Regions from separate parts of the Homo sapiens genome. Here region 1 is linked to region 2. The links are contacts of gene promoters, found by promoter capture Hi-C in blood cells and fetal thymus (Javierre and others, 2016). All regions are on one chromosome and are shown on one strand. The core of a region is centred on a gene start or on the middle of the fragment in contact, and the rest is flanking DNA. Distances in the headings are between cores, read along the strand shown. Region 1 has its middle 26 kb from the start of ZNF295-AS1. Region 2 holds the start of UMODL1-AS1 (UMODL1 antisense RNA 1).

Region 1 (6,523 bases), core at 2,814-5,313, 130 kb after region 2:
TTTAACCCTGTTATTCAATTCGTCACCAATTATTGGTGGTGGTTTTATTTTCTTTTTATTGTTTTTAGGTTTCCCTTTTTTTTTTTTTTTTTTTTTTTAGCAATAACAGGCTTTGTGAGGTTTGGGATTGCTGCACTCCTTTGCATCCTCTCAATCTTTGGCACATACTCAAGACAGTAAATAGTGTGGTGGCAAAATCATGTCCCCAGTGTTTAATATTTTCCCCAGCCAGAGGCAAAATCTTGGCTCAGTTCTTATGAACTTGAGTTCTATGAACTTGGAAAGTTGAGTGGCAGGTGTTCCTCATACATGGTGTATGTGTGAGATTTGCCATATTGTCATAGAGGCACTTTACAAATACAGCATGGGGAAACCCTGCTGCAGCATGAATTTGGGTATCATGCTATTGGCCATCAGACCCCGTCCTCCACAGGAGAGCCCTTGGTCAGCTCATCCACCTCATGATAATGCAAGTCTGCCTTTTGTGCAGTGTCTTAAATCCCACTTGTGGTTGGCATCATTTCCTCCAGAAAATACTTCCTGGTCCCTTTCCAGGTGCTCTTCACCCCAGCCCACGGCAGTTGCCCCTCCTAAGTGTTCCCCATAACACCCTGATATCGGCCTGTCATTTGACTTATTACTTTCTGTTTCATCTGCGTGTGGTTTATCCTGCTAGACTAGGAGGGACCCAGGGATAGGGGCTATTCTTGTGTTTCCAGGACCTGGCAAAGGGAAGGTGCCTATTAAGTATTTGATAAATACAGCAAAGAAATTTTGTCTGAGGCAACAGTCAACCAATTTATTTTTAGCTAATATAGGAAAGTTAGTGAAGATCTCTGCAAATGGTCTCCAGATTTTGATTTCACCTACACAGAGATCCATAGTGTATTTTAATTTCATGTGATTCTCAGTAAGCCCAAGGGAGAATGGAAATGTTTGAATGGCTGGTGTTAGATTGACAAGTTCCTGGAACTTTGTGAATCCCGGGCACTCTGTGCTGCTGTGATTGTTCTGGATGTGTGACAATCCATGTGCATCCTTGGCACTGCCAAGGTCCCCCTTAGGACACCCAAGTATGGAAAGTTGCCTAATAAACTCATCAGTAAACCTAAGAAAAGGAATAGTAACTAATTCTGAGTGCTTATTGTGTGTGAAGCACTGTACAGGTGTGTGGTGGTATTTGTAAACCATTAACAGACTTGTTTTTCTTTTTACTCCCATTCCCCATTCTCAGGTATCCCAGTCTCCTGCAGTCTGGAATATTCCTTATTCTCTCTGGCTTTTTTGGCCTTGATCATTTGGAAGACTGTGAACCAGTCATTTTGTAGAGTGTTTCTTACTTGGAGTTTGTCCCATGCTTCCTCATGACTGGACCATCACTATGCGTTTTGGGGTCAAAATATACAGAAGCTCTATTCTCTTCATTTCAACCTATGGATGGCATCTGATGCCTGTATGCCCTGTTGCTGATGGCATTCATTTTAATCCTTTGACTAAGGTGGACTTCTGCCAACGTCTCCACTATGTTTGCCCCCATTTGTAGTTAATAAGTATTTTGTGGGGAGATATTTTGAGACTATGTAAAATTCTACTCCTCATCTCAATTCTACCCACTAATTTTAGCATCTCTTGATGTTCCTTGCCTGAATTAATTTATTTTTACAGTTGTTGCCAAATGGAGGTTTTCTCATCCATCGTTCCCTCTTCATTTATTTGTGGGCTTTCTACTGCAAGGAAAAAAATGTTCTGTAATTCCCATTAACTTACTAATTTACATGTGTATGTGTTGTGGATTCATAGATTCCTATTCTGTTCAATGGTTTCTAATCAGTTGCCACCTTTTTTATTTTTTTGATGTTCAAATTATCCTAAATTTAGTAGGAGTTTCAGACCAGGCTGCTGCAAGCTTTGACATATCCTCTCAGCAAAGTAAGAAAAATGCTTAAAGAGCCTGAGGTTTTTTTTTCTTAATTTCTGGCACAACAAGATGTTCCAGACTCATCTCCCTCTTTCCCTGCCAGAGCCCTGAAACCAGCCATTTTATTTTTGTATATGTAATAAGCTCCAAAATACATTGTTATTATTTTTGCTTTAAATGGTCAATTGTCTTTTAAAGATATTTAATTAAAAAAAGTCTTTATAGTTACCTATGTAAGTTTCCATTTCTGGTACTCATTATTTTGCCTGCAGATTCAAGTTTCCTGTGATATCATTTTACTTCTGCTCAAAAGACATTAACATTTCTTTTAGTGTAGGTCTACTGATGCTGGGTTCTTTCAGCTCAGGTATATCTAAAAAATATTTATTTTGCCAACCTTGAAAGCTATTTTTGATGGGCATGGAATTCTAGATAGCTTTTTTTTCTTGTGGTGCTTAAAATATGTTGCTCACTGTTTCTAGCTTTATTTCCAGTGAGAAATCCTGCTGTCCTTACCTTTGTTCCTCTGTATACAGTATGTCTTTTTTACTCTGGCTGCTTTTTTAAAGTTCTCTTTATTACCAGTTTTATGCAATTTGATTAGGATGCATGACCTTATATTAGGCCATTTGAAATTGTCTCAGAAATCACTATTGTTCTGGTGCATTGTTCTCTTTTTTCTCTGTGTTTCCTTTTGGATAGTTTCTATTGTTATGTCTTCTAGTTCACTAACCTGCTGCAATGTCTAATCTGCCACTGATGCCATCTGGTGTATTTTTCATTTCAGATGTGTAGTTTTCATCTCTAGAAGTTTGATTTGAATTTTAGGTATATATTCTATGTATCTACTTAACACATTCCATCTTTTCTCCGGCTTCTTTACCATATGGGATACAGTTAGAACACCTTTATAATGTCCTTGACTACTAATTCTATCATCTACTCCATTTCTAGGTTTGTTTTAAATTGATGTATTTTTCTCCTCATTCTGGGTACCTTTTTGTTTCCTCTTGGCATGTCTGGTAATGTTTTGTTGAATTGCAGACATTGTGAACTTTACCCCATGGGTGCTGGTTGTTTTTGTATTTCTATAAATATTCTGGAGCTTTATTGGGGGGATGTAATTAACTTACTTGGAAACCATTTTATCCAGGTTTTGCTTTTAAATGGTATTAAATGGGATCAGAGCAGAATTTAAATGCGGGCTAATTTTGTTCCGTTACTGAGGCAAGTACACCCCCTGTACTCAATGCCCTTGAATTACTTCAAGCACTGTATGAACTCCAGGGATTGTTCCTTCTAATGCTTATGTGTTTTGTTGAGTTTTTTTGTTTGTTTGCTTTTTTTTTTTAACCAGCTTCAAGAAGTTTCCTTACATGTTGAAGAGTCAAGGGACCTCTCTGCAGACCTCCAGAGTTCGTTCTTGTTCATTCGCGCGCGCGCTCGCTCACTCTCAGGCTTTCCCTTTTCCAGCACACTATGCTTAGAACCCTAGCCGCCTTTCCCTTCCTGGACTCCCAGCTCCATCTCCTCAACTCAGGAACACTGCTGGTTTATCCCATCTCTTTCTCATCTCCCGGTGATCACTGTTCTTTGTTGCCTTATGTTCAGTGTTTTGAAAATCACTCATATGCTTTGTCTGGAATTTAGTCATTTCACGCAAGATGGAAAATCAAGGCTCTATGATTTCATCTTGCCCAGAAGTGGAAATGAACTTGTTATTTTGTCATGGATAAGTTAGCTAATATGTCCTAAAGCACCTAGCCCTGTATGTCTGGGGATGCTATGCCAGAAGTTTGCCAGTGGAAAATTCTCCCAAATTCTAAGCAGCTTATTTATGAAAGAACTCAGTAGAGATTTTCTCAAACTTAAAAAAAAAATTACACACATCTCACTAAATTCAGATGAACTTTATCTCCTCCTCAACTCACCTTTAGTCAGGTCTGAAAAAGCCTATGGTCACTTTAGCAGCAACCATCATGAAAGAAATTATGGGAGAGAAGGTCAGGATGGAAAGAGACAGGCATCTCTCTCCTGTTTGGTATATGCACGGTCACAGTTTTACAAAGCCATAAAATATTACAAATTATAAAATAGTGAGATATTTATGACCTGGAAATTTCCTGACAACTGAGGCACCTGGAACTTCAGCTTCACAGTAAATCTGCCTATTTTATTCATTCACAGTGAAAAACCTTGGTCACAATCCAGTATGTGGATTTTATAAGCTGATAATGGGTCATAATCTGCCATTAGCCCTTTCCCTTGGCCAGGTCTTCAGATGACCTGGGTGGCAAGGATGGACTCTACAAAACCAGGCTGGGGTGGTGTCCAGCTTGATGGCTGGAGGAAGAGCCATTGCTTTGGGTTCTCAGTGTTTTTGGTGACCGATGATATGTAGTTAAAATGGCAGAAACACTAGATCTTTTCTCTCATGTGATAAAGACATCAGGAAGTTAGGATGCAAACTTTATTTCTACCACTTGAAACAGAAATTGGTGTGTAAGGAAGCAGAGATTTTGTTCTGAGGGTCCCCATTATTATTTAAAAGTAGGTTTTCACGGGCATGAAAGTTGGGTTTCCAAGTGGAGTTCATGGAACAAAAGAGCCAGTTTCTGTTCACAAAACCAAAGACCAAAGATAGATTACTGAATAATGTATAAGTTTGATGTTATAAAAATAACATGTCTGTCTGACTTGTTGTTAGGTGAAAGCATTAAGTACAAAATAACTTACTAGCCCTTTAAATAAAATGATTTACATCAACTGCTGTTGGTCCTCTAAGAAGTGTTAGGCTTCATGTCTAGCCCCTACACAGCCATATTATTTTAGAAACATTGAGTGGGAGCTTTTCCTGATTTGTCAGAGTGAATAGTTTGGAAAAATCTCTAGCCTGTCACTAAGAAAAGGCTACCAATAATTGAGGAGCTAAAGCTCTTTCGCTGGAAACTTACTTGATGATCCAAAGAGTTATAGTTGAAGAGTTACCAGAGCTCAGGAAAAATATTAAAATTTATACAATTTGGAAATTCTGTTATTTCTGTTATTTGGAATAACCATATTTCCATTGCCAATGCTAGGACACAGGTCTAGGAGCATATTATGTCCCCAGTAAGTGGTTTTAGTTTTTTTTTTTTTTTTTAATACCATGAAGGCAGGGTCGCATCATAACTCTTGTGGGCCCTAGACACTTTGGGGACACACTTCCTCCACAAAATATATACAAAGTCATATTTTGCAACTACATTGATATAAGGGCAAATATAATCCAAGCTGTATTAAAAATAAACTTTTCTTCAACCCCTAACAACTCATTTTTTTCCTTCTGATTTTAAAATAAACTAAAACATTGTGGTCCATTAAAAAAAATTTATGGTTCCTTAAAAGTGCCAGGGGCTCTAAGCACTTTGTCTCCTGTGCCTAATGAATAAGTTGGCCCTGATTAAAGGAAGAAATGAAGCAGGCATGCAGCCAGCAGGGAGAAACAGATTCCAATAGAGATAAATGGAAACTTGGGGTTCTAAAGTTTCTGTTGGAAAAGTTGTCCAGTGGATGACAACCTCCCAACATTCATGTGTATTTTTTAGCCTGGATAACTGTGACTATGAATTCTTATTGACATTTTTTTTATCCTCTAAAAAATAAGGGGCTTTTATAGCTGACACAGGATGAATTAGGTGCTCTGAGAAGCACTCAGATTCTTGACAAAACACACTTTTTGATGAATGCCAGACTTATAAGAGTAGGGAGTTTTCCAAGCCCTTCCTCAACTTACCTCCAAGAAGCCAACAAAACTCTTGAGCTAGGCAGAGCTCAGTGACCTGATGGTGGACACTCCTAGTGTCACTGTCTGGGCACACTGACAAAGTAGGGGAGTTGAGCCTGTGACACCCACATTGAATCGGGACCCTGCAAGGTGGGTGGGGACTGACAAGGTGTACAGAGAAGAGTAACCACAGCTCTCCTGGGAGAGGAGGCAAGGTTAGGTCTTGCCTGGCATCTAGGAACTTGGATTTGGGGAGGTTCTCACTGTCCCTGATAAACCCAGTGGCTTACTGCGCCTAAACGTGTACAAACCATACACTTCATGCTGAACAGCCGCTTTCCTTCCAAGAGTCTGGAATGTTGATGCGTCCTGGGCAGAAGACACCTATATGACTAGCCCCCAGTAACGACCCTGGCACCAAGTCTCTAACGAGCTTCCCTGGGGGCAATGTCTCATTCATGTTGCCACAAGTAGTTCCTGAAGGAATTAAATGCATCCTGTGTGACTTCACTATGAGAGGGCTCTTGGAAGCTTGCTCCTGGTTTCTTTCAGATTTCATGCCCTTTTTTTCCTTTGCTGATTTTGCCTTGTGTCCTTTTACTGTAATCAGTCACACCCATCAGTGCAACTCTCTACCAAGTCCTGTGAGTCCTCCTAGCCAATCATTGAACCCAGGGTTGGTCTTGGGGTTCCCCAACTCATGGTTTCAAGTCCGTGACACCTGTGGTTTGCAGTGAATCCAACAACAATTGTATTTGTGAAAGCACCACAAATTTAGACTTTCATGATTCCAGCAGATCGAGCCAAGGGCTCACACTCAACACATGAGCAGGCAAGCA
Region 2 (6,193 bases), core at 2,191-4,690:
CCTCCGCCCCAGCTGCTGCAGACAGGGAGCCCTAAGAGATGGGGAAGAGAGATCTGGGACAGGCAAGGGGACCAAGCTGTCTTCCTAACTCAACTAGAAACCAGCTGCTGGGTGCCTCCGTTTCCACACGCACAAGATGAGGATGCCGCCTGAGCATTGCTAGCAGCCTGCGACTCCACGGCTGCAGGAGCTTTGCCCCAGAGGCTCACACAGGCTATGGGTCCTATTAGTCCTAGTCCCCATGCACCATTCGAGGAACTCACCACAGGCGGGGGTCTTCAGAGCTGTGAGGGTGGAGGTCAATGGCAGGTCTACAGAACCGGAGGGTCCACTGTCCTCATTTCGCAGCCACGTGGGATTCAGAAGTGTTTCCCGGGTGGAACGGGTGGCATGCCACAGGAAGTGGCCGGTGGGGTCCTCAGTAGGGGAAGGCCAGGAGGGTGGCTCCATGATGGAGTTTCCCTGTAGCTGTCCAGGGAGGGCCAGTGGGCCATCTGTGGCCCCAGGAGGGAAGCTGTGGGTTGACCCAGTAGCCTTCGGGGAGGAGGTGGTGCCTATCACCCCGATAGTGTTCCTATGGCTGGGGCTCGCCTGGCTGGTGCTCCCCTGGCTGGGGCTCTCCTGGCTGGGGCTCCCCTGGCTGGGGCTCCCCTGGCTGGAGTTCGCGTGGCTGGTGCTCCGCTGGCTGGGGTTCACCTGGCTGGGGCTCCCCTGGCTGGTGCTCCTCTGGCTGGGGCTCGCCTGGCTGGTACTCTCCTGTCTGAGGCTCCCCTGGCTGGGGCTCCCCTGGCTGGGGTTCACCTGGCTGGGGCTCCCCTGGTCCATCCCCAGACCCGGGGCAGTGCTGGGCACCTCCTGCTCCACGCCTTTTCCTGTGTTGTTCCTGTCATACCCGACCACATTGCTGCCCCCTCTTCTGGGTGAGGGCTCTGGGGTCCAGGCCTGGCCTGCTGCCGGGGTGCCCTGAGGGTACCCAGGACTGGGTGACAAGGTGAAGTTCTCTAGGCCGAGGGCTGCTGTTCCCGTGCCAAGACCTGGGACCGTTACCCCTGTTGCCGCAGACAGTCCACCGCCCATGGGGCTCACCAGGTCACCTGCCAAGACACATCCACTGTCAGAGCCTGCTGGATCCCACCCACGAGTAAGAGCCCTCCCAGGAGGGCAGCATGGCCGTCCAGCAGGACTGCTCTGCATCCCGGAGTGGACCTGGCCAGGGACGCAGGCGGGCGCCAGCGTTCAGGAGTGTTTCCTGGGCCCATGTTTGCAGCCTCCCCGGGGCTCTCTGAAGGCAAATCACGCCTCTCCACTGGATAAATGAGGAAACTGAAGTTGAGGGTGAGGGATCCACCCGGGGGGCTACAAAACCCGGGCTTGAATGCAGGGCTTGGTTCTCATAGGCCTCAGATTAATCCATCAGGACTCTGGGAAAATGGGACAATTTCCCCCAGATTTGTGCTCAATGTGGGACTTGGTGCTGGATGCTGTCATCGACTTGCAGGACATTAGGCGAATGAGAAAAACAGAAGACAAGGTGTGGGATGTTAGGAAGCAGGACAGCACACGCAGTGTCTAAGGAATATTCTCCCCAGGGAACTGGTCTCGGCTGCTCCTTCCAGCTAGAAAGCCCTCAGCAGGGGCTGGCAAGCCAGTGGCTGGGCGCCTCTGCCACGCCTGTGTCCGGGCCGACATTGCTAATCAGTCACTGCATTTTAGGTCCCTACGTGGCCTCCTCCTGCTGCTCAATTCAGCATCCCAGGTATCCCCGACCCACTCATCAGAACTGGTCCACAGAAAAGACTGGGGGCCGATACAGCAGGACTAGAGCTCAGCGGCCCCCATCGGGCCTCTCTGCAGCTTCTCTGGGCTTCCACACTGTCTCGGGCTCCAGGCCACACCCTCTCGGGCTCCAGGCCACTGGGGAAGGAATCCCTCGACCCCGGGCTGCATCCTGACTTCTGTGGGCCCAAGGAACTTGGCCTTCATGGACCCCTGCACCCCTCCACTTAACAATCTATCAAAAATTACATTTTATAATGGCATTTAGATAGAGATGAGTGTAATCCAAGCTAGATTCATTGTTTTATGTATATTTACTATCCTTCTATTAATTTCTTTCTTCTGATTTTAAAATAAATTGAAATGAAAACATTTCTGTAGGCCCCTAACATTACCATAGGTCCTCAGCCCTGTGCCTATGGAGAATTGGGCTTTGCCCCACCCCCAGATTCTCGGGCAGGGGGTCTTCCCAGAGTCGGCAGGGGGGTCGACACGTACCCTCACAGGCCCGGCCTGCGCGGGAGGGGGTGGCGTCCCTGGTGGTACGGCACTGGCAGGTGTAGGAGCCCTCCAGGTTGATGCACCAGGCAGCCGGTGAGCAGTCGTGTTCCGCGCTGTCCACACACTCGTCCCAGTCTGCCAGGGGGAGACACAATCAAAACCCATGAGAAAACAGCCAAAGAGTGATCAGAAGACAGACCCATGCTGGAAGGAGTCCTTCCTAGCCGTCTTTGCAGTGAACGGCCGGGAGCAGGGGCATTTTGGGGCATCCGTCCAACACTCTCATGACAACCTTACGGCCTGCCTGTGCCCACCTTCACATTGGTTGGCTTATTTGGGGGCAAAGATTAGGAAATGTTCATTCCTTAAATATTAGCACCCATGGGTGTGCATGTAGCCCTCTCTTCTTTATTCTGTTTCCACACCCAAAACTTGAAATGTTTTCTCCTCTCTCTTTGATGTGCCAACATTCTCCAATACTTAGTGTCTCAACCAAGAAATAGGAAAGTAACTGAGCCAGGGGTGGGGACACAGCTGAGTATAACGTGAACTTTCCGCATGGGGGGTGGGGGTCCAGCGGAGTATAACACCAGCTTTCCACGCCGGGGGTGGGGGTCCAGCGGAGTATAACACCAGCTTTCCACGCCGGGGGTGGGGGCCAGTGGAGTATAACATGAGCTTTCCACACCGGGGGTGGGGGTCCAGCTGAGCATAACACCAGCTTTACATGCCAGGAGTGGGGGTCAGCCTGAGTATAACATGGACTTCTCTCGTGGGGGGGGTGGGGGTCAGCCTGAGTACAACATGAACTTCCCACGCCGGGGGTGGGGTCCAGCGGAGTACAACATGAACTTCCCGCGCCATATTCTAGAGCACCCGGGTGTCTCCACAGGTATGTCCCTCCTCCTGTGCCCAAAGACTTGTGATGTCATGTCACCGGGGGGCCCGCCTGAGGGGAATGAAGGTGAGGACAAGGACAATGTAGCTCCCATGGGGTGGCTGAGCCGAGGTCGTCAGGGCCAGGCCCTGCTGGAGGTGACAGTGCCTTCTGCGCGTGCTTCTGTAGAGCTGCGGGTGGAGGTGCTCGGGAACGAACCCACACCCGGCATGCCAGAGAAGTTCCAATTCAGGTGGAATTTAAGCCACGATGCAGGACCAGTTCAGTTCTGGGCAAAGAAAACCCTGCTGCTGAGTGCTCTGAGGCTCGTTTTGTGGGTTTTTTTCTGTTGTGCTTCCTGCGGTCTCCACAGAAGCAGCTTCCCTGGAGAACAGCAAGCTCGTCAGCTGCCACAACAGCTATGCCACCACCCTAGCATGGCCTGGGGGCTGCCTTGCCATCAGAACACTGCTGGTGCCAACCCACACCTCTTCCTGGGGTGCTACTCAACCTCCAGCCTACAGGTAACTCTCCTGGGGGTGCTCCGGGTTGGGGTTGGAGCCTAGGCTGGCTGGGCTGCAGTCCACGGAGGACAGCAGAGGCACCAGGCAAGACGCTGGCTCAAACCACCAAGCACCTGATGTCTATTTTGGGGCGTGGTGATTCACCTAATCTTCACTCCTCCGTCCCCCCAGACAGCTCCCAAGCGAGCTCAGAGGAAGGCGCTGACAGCTGTATTTAGTCTTGCATTAAGCCTTGAGGCTTGCCGGCCCTCCAGTTCAGAGGAAGAGGCAGGTGTGGGAGCAGGAAGAGCTGCCAGTGAGCCTCTGCACCCTCCCGGGCTGGCCAGGCGAGGGCGCAGAGCCAGCGAGAGCCCAGGGCAGGACGCTGCACACTGCTCCCACTGGCCCCGCAGCTGGGACAAGGGCTGAGCCCTCTCCTGGAGCAATGGGGGCAGCTGCTTCAGAGACTCCCAGCCCAGGTGCCCCTCCTGAGCTGGCCCCACCCAGAACAACAAGCTGGAGAGGGTCCAGGAGCAGGTACAGACCCCAGATCTCCTGGGCCACCCTGTCCCAGCAAGGTGCAGGCTCCTCAGTTGGACCATGAGCTGTCTTTCAGGGCCCAGGGCGTCCTCCAGAAGTGATGCCCCTCGGACTCTCCTGGGGGCGTGTGTCAGATTCACACTGGGAGAAAGAGGGCACAGAGCACCTCATCCTAATGCCACCGCAAATGGACGCTGGACAAATAGCGGTACCCGTGAACCTAAGGAAAGGAAGCAGCCTGCAGTAGGTTAGCCTGGCCAGCAGGTGAGGGGGATGGTGACAGCCCTAGGCCAGGATCCTCACTCACGGCCCTTCTCTCACTCTGCAGAGGGGATGGAAAGGGCTCGCGCAGTGGCGAGGCGGGTGGGAGCAGGCAGCAAACTGGAAGCTTTGGGGAGCTCAGCTCCACCTACTCTGGCCCCAGGAAAAGCGGCGTTGATTCCAGAGCCCCAGAAGACCCACAAGGCCTCTTACGCAGAAGGATGCCGGTGGGAGTCCTGCTCCTCTGGCTAAGGTCGGTGCAGAGGGTTCACAGCGGTGCCTCATAGAAGCCCAGTGATGACCCTCACTCTAGAACAAATGCACACTGTATGAGAATCTCTCCTGAGAGCAGATGTTGGGAAAGAGAAGGAATAGGGGCCGTGCTGTTAGGAGCAAGAGATTGAATGGAAATGATGTGAGGGGTTCAAAAAGGAGCCCCGTGAGGCGGAAGGACCAGTGGGAACCCAGGGGTTGCTAGGAGACCTTCCTAGATGAGCTCTCATCCAAGATATGAAAGTTAATCCTGGAAGAGTTAGCCCTGAACGCTGGAGGGGCCATCAGAAATGCACTGTCGCCATGCACAGGCACTGGGCTAAACCCACACAGGCATTGTGCCTTAATTTACTCCATCGCCATAGGAGGTGGGATGTTGCTGTAATCTCATTCCACAGATGAGTATACTGAGGCCCAGGGAGAGGAAGTCATTTGTGCAGCATCCCACAGTGAGTGAGTGTCAGAGCTGGGATTCCAACCCGTTCCGCCTCACTCTAACCTCTTCCTATGGGGCAAAGTGAGCAGGAGGTTTGGCCGCCGCTGTGAGGGTGCAACTCATAGGCGCGGGGGGCGGCTCAGCCTCCAGGCCTCCCAGCACATGGTACGTACCTCCTGGGGAAAGACCGAACACATGGCCACCTACACAGCCCACCGTGACTGGCGCAGGAAACCCCAGGCCCCGGGATGGACGGCCTAAGGGTAAAGATAAGGTCACGACAACCTGACCCCTCCACGGGCGAACAGCGCCTCATCTATCGGGGTTGGGACATGTGGACGCACCGGCAGGGAGTGCTCCTGAATGACTGAGGAATGCTCTAGTTGTGCCAACAACATTATTTCTAGGTGGACCACAGCGCAAATACCTTTTCTTCTTCAGAGGAGCTCTTTTTGTGTTTTCGTTTCTTGTTTTTTTTGCCGAGTAATATCAAATGTCTTCTTCTACAGATCCTCGCCGTGAAGGTGGGGCTCTCAGCGGGGGTGGATGTCCCCCTGTAAGCTGGGCTCAGGCCTCGTGCTGCCTCCCCAGGCAGGGGCGGTGCCCCATGGTTGCTCCCCCGACTCTGGCGTCCGAAGACACCAGTAGTCATGGAGTCAAAAGAGTGCAGAGGCAGGGCCGCCTCCCCGGCCATGCACGGCCTGAGGCGTCACCATCACTGGCCACACAGCTGACCCCCCAGCTCAGGAGACCTGCCCGCACCAGCACCTCAGCTCTGAAATGTGGAGGAAGCAGGCCACAGCCTGCCCGGGACCCTGCCGGGCAAGAGCCTGCAGAAGGAGCTTAATAACTTCTGCAGGACCACTGAACAGCGTGGGGAGTGGGGTGCTGCGAATGCTTACAATGGATTCATCCAGTCCTAGAGGTGCAAGACACGGGTCTCCTGTGGCTGCCATCACAAACACACCAGCTGGGGGGCCTGAAACAGCACAGATGTATTCCCGCCGTTCCGGAGGCGAAGTCCAA

Evidence for each region. The method cuts DNA at HindIII sites, captures the fragments that hold promoters and counts their contacts. A CHiCAGO score of 5 or more calls a contact.
Region 1: a contact is called between a fragment that was not itself captured here and the fragment with the promoter of UMODL1-AS1 in region 2, in 1 of 17 cell types (M0 macrophages). The highest score is 5.3, in M0 macrophages.

What each region holds. Positions count from the first base shown.
Region 1 is chr21:41,979,582-41,986,104 of GRCh38, reverse strand. No RefSeq gene overlaps it. Among named protein-coding and RNA genes, the nearest start is that of ZNF295-AS1, 26 kb to the left of the region's middle. The HindIII fragment of the contact is 4,309 bases long and covers 1,909-6,217 here.
Region 2 is chr21:42,105,781-42,111,973 of GRCh38, reverse strand. It overlaps UMODL1-AS1 (UMODL1 antisense RNA 1), which reads left to right and starts at 3,440. Exons shown (of 2, transcript NR_027243.1): 1 at 3,440-3,678. UMODL1 (uromodulin like 1) reads right to left here. Exons shown (of 23, transcript NM_001004416.3): 10 at 2,275-2,412; 11 at 853-1,094; 12 at 264-468. RefSeq lists a silencer at 3,901-4,195 and an enhancer at 4,172-4,291. The HindIII fragment of the contact is 14,881 bases long and covers 1-4,587 here.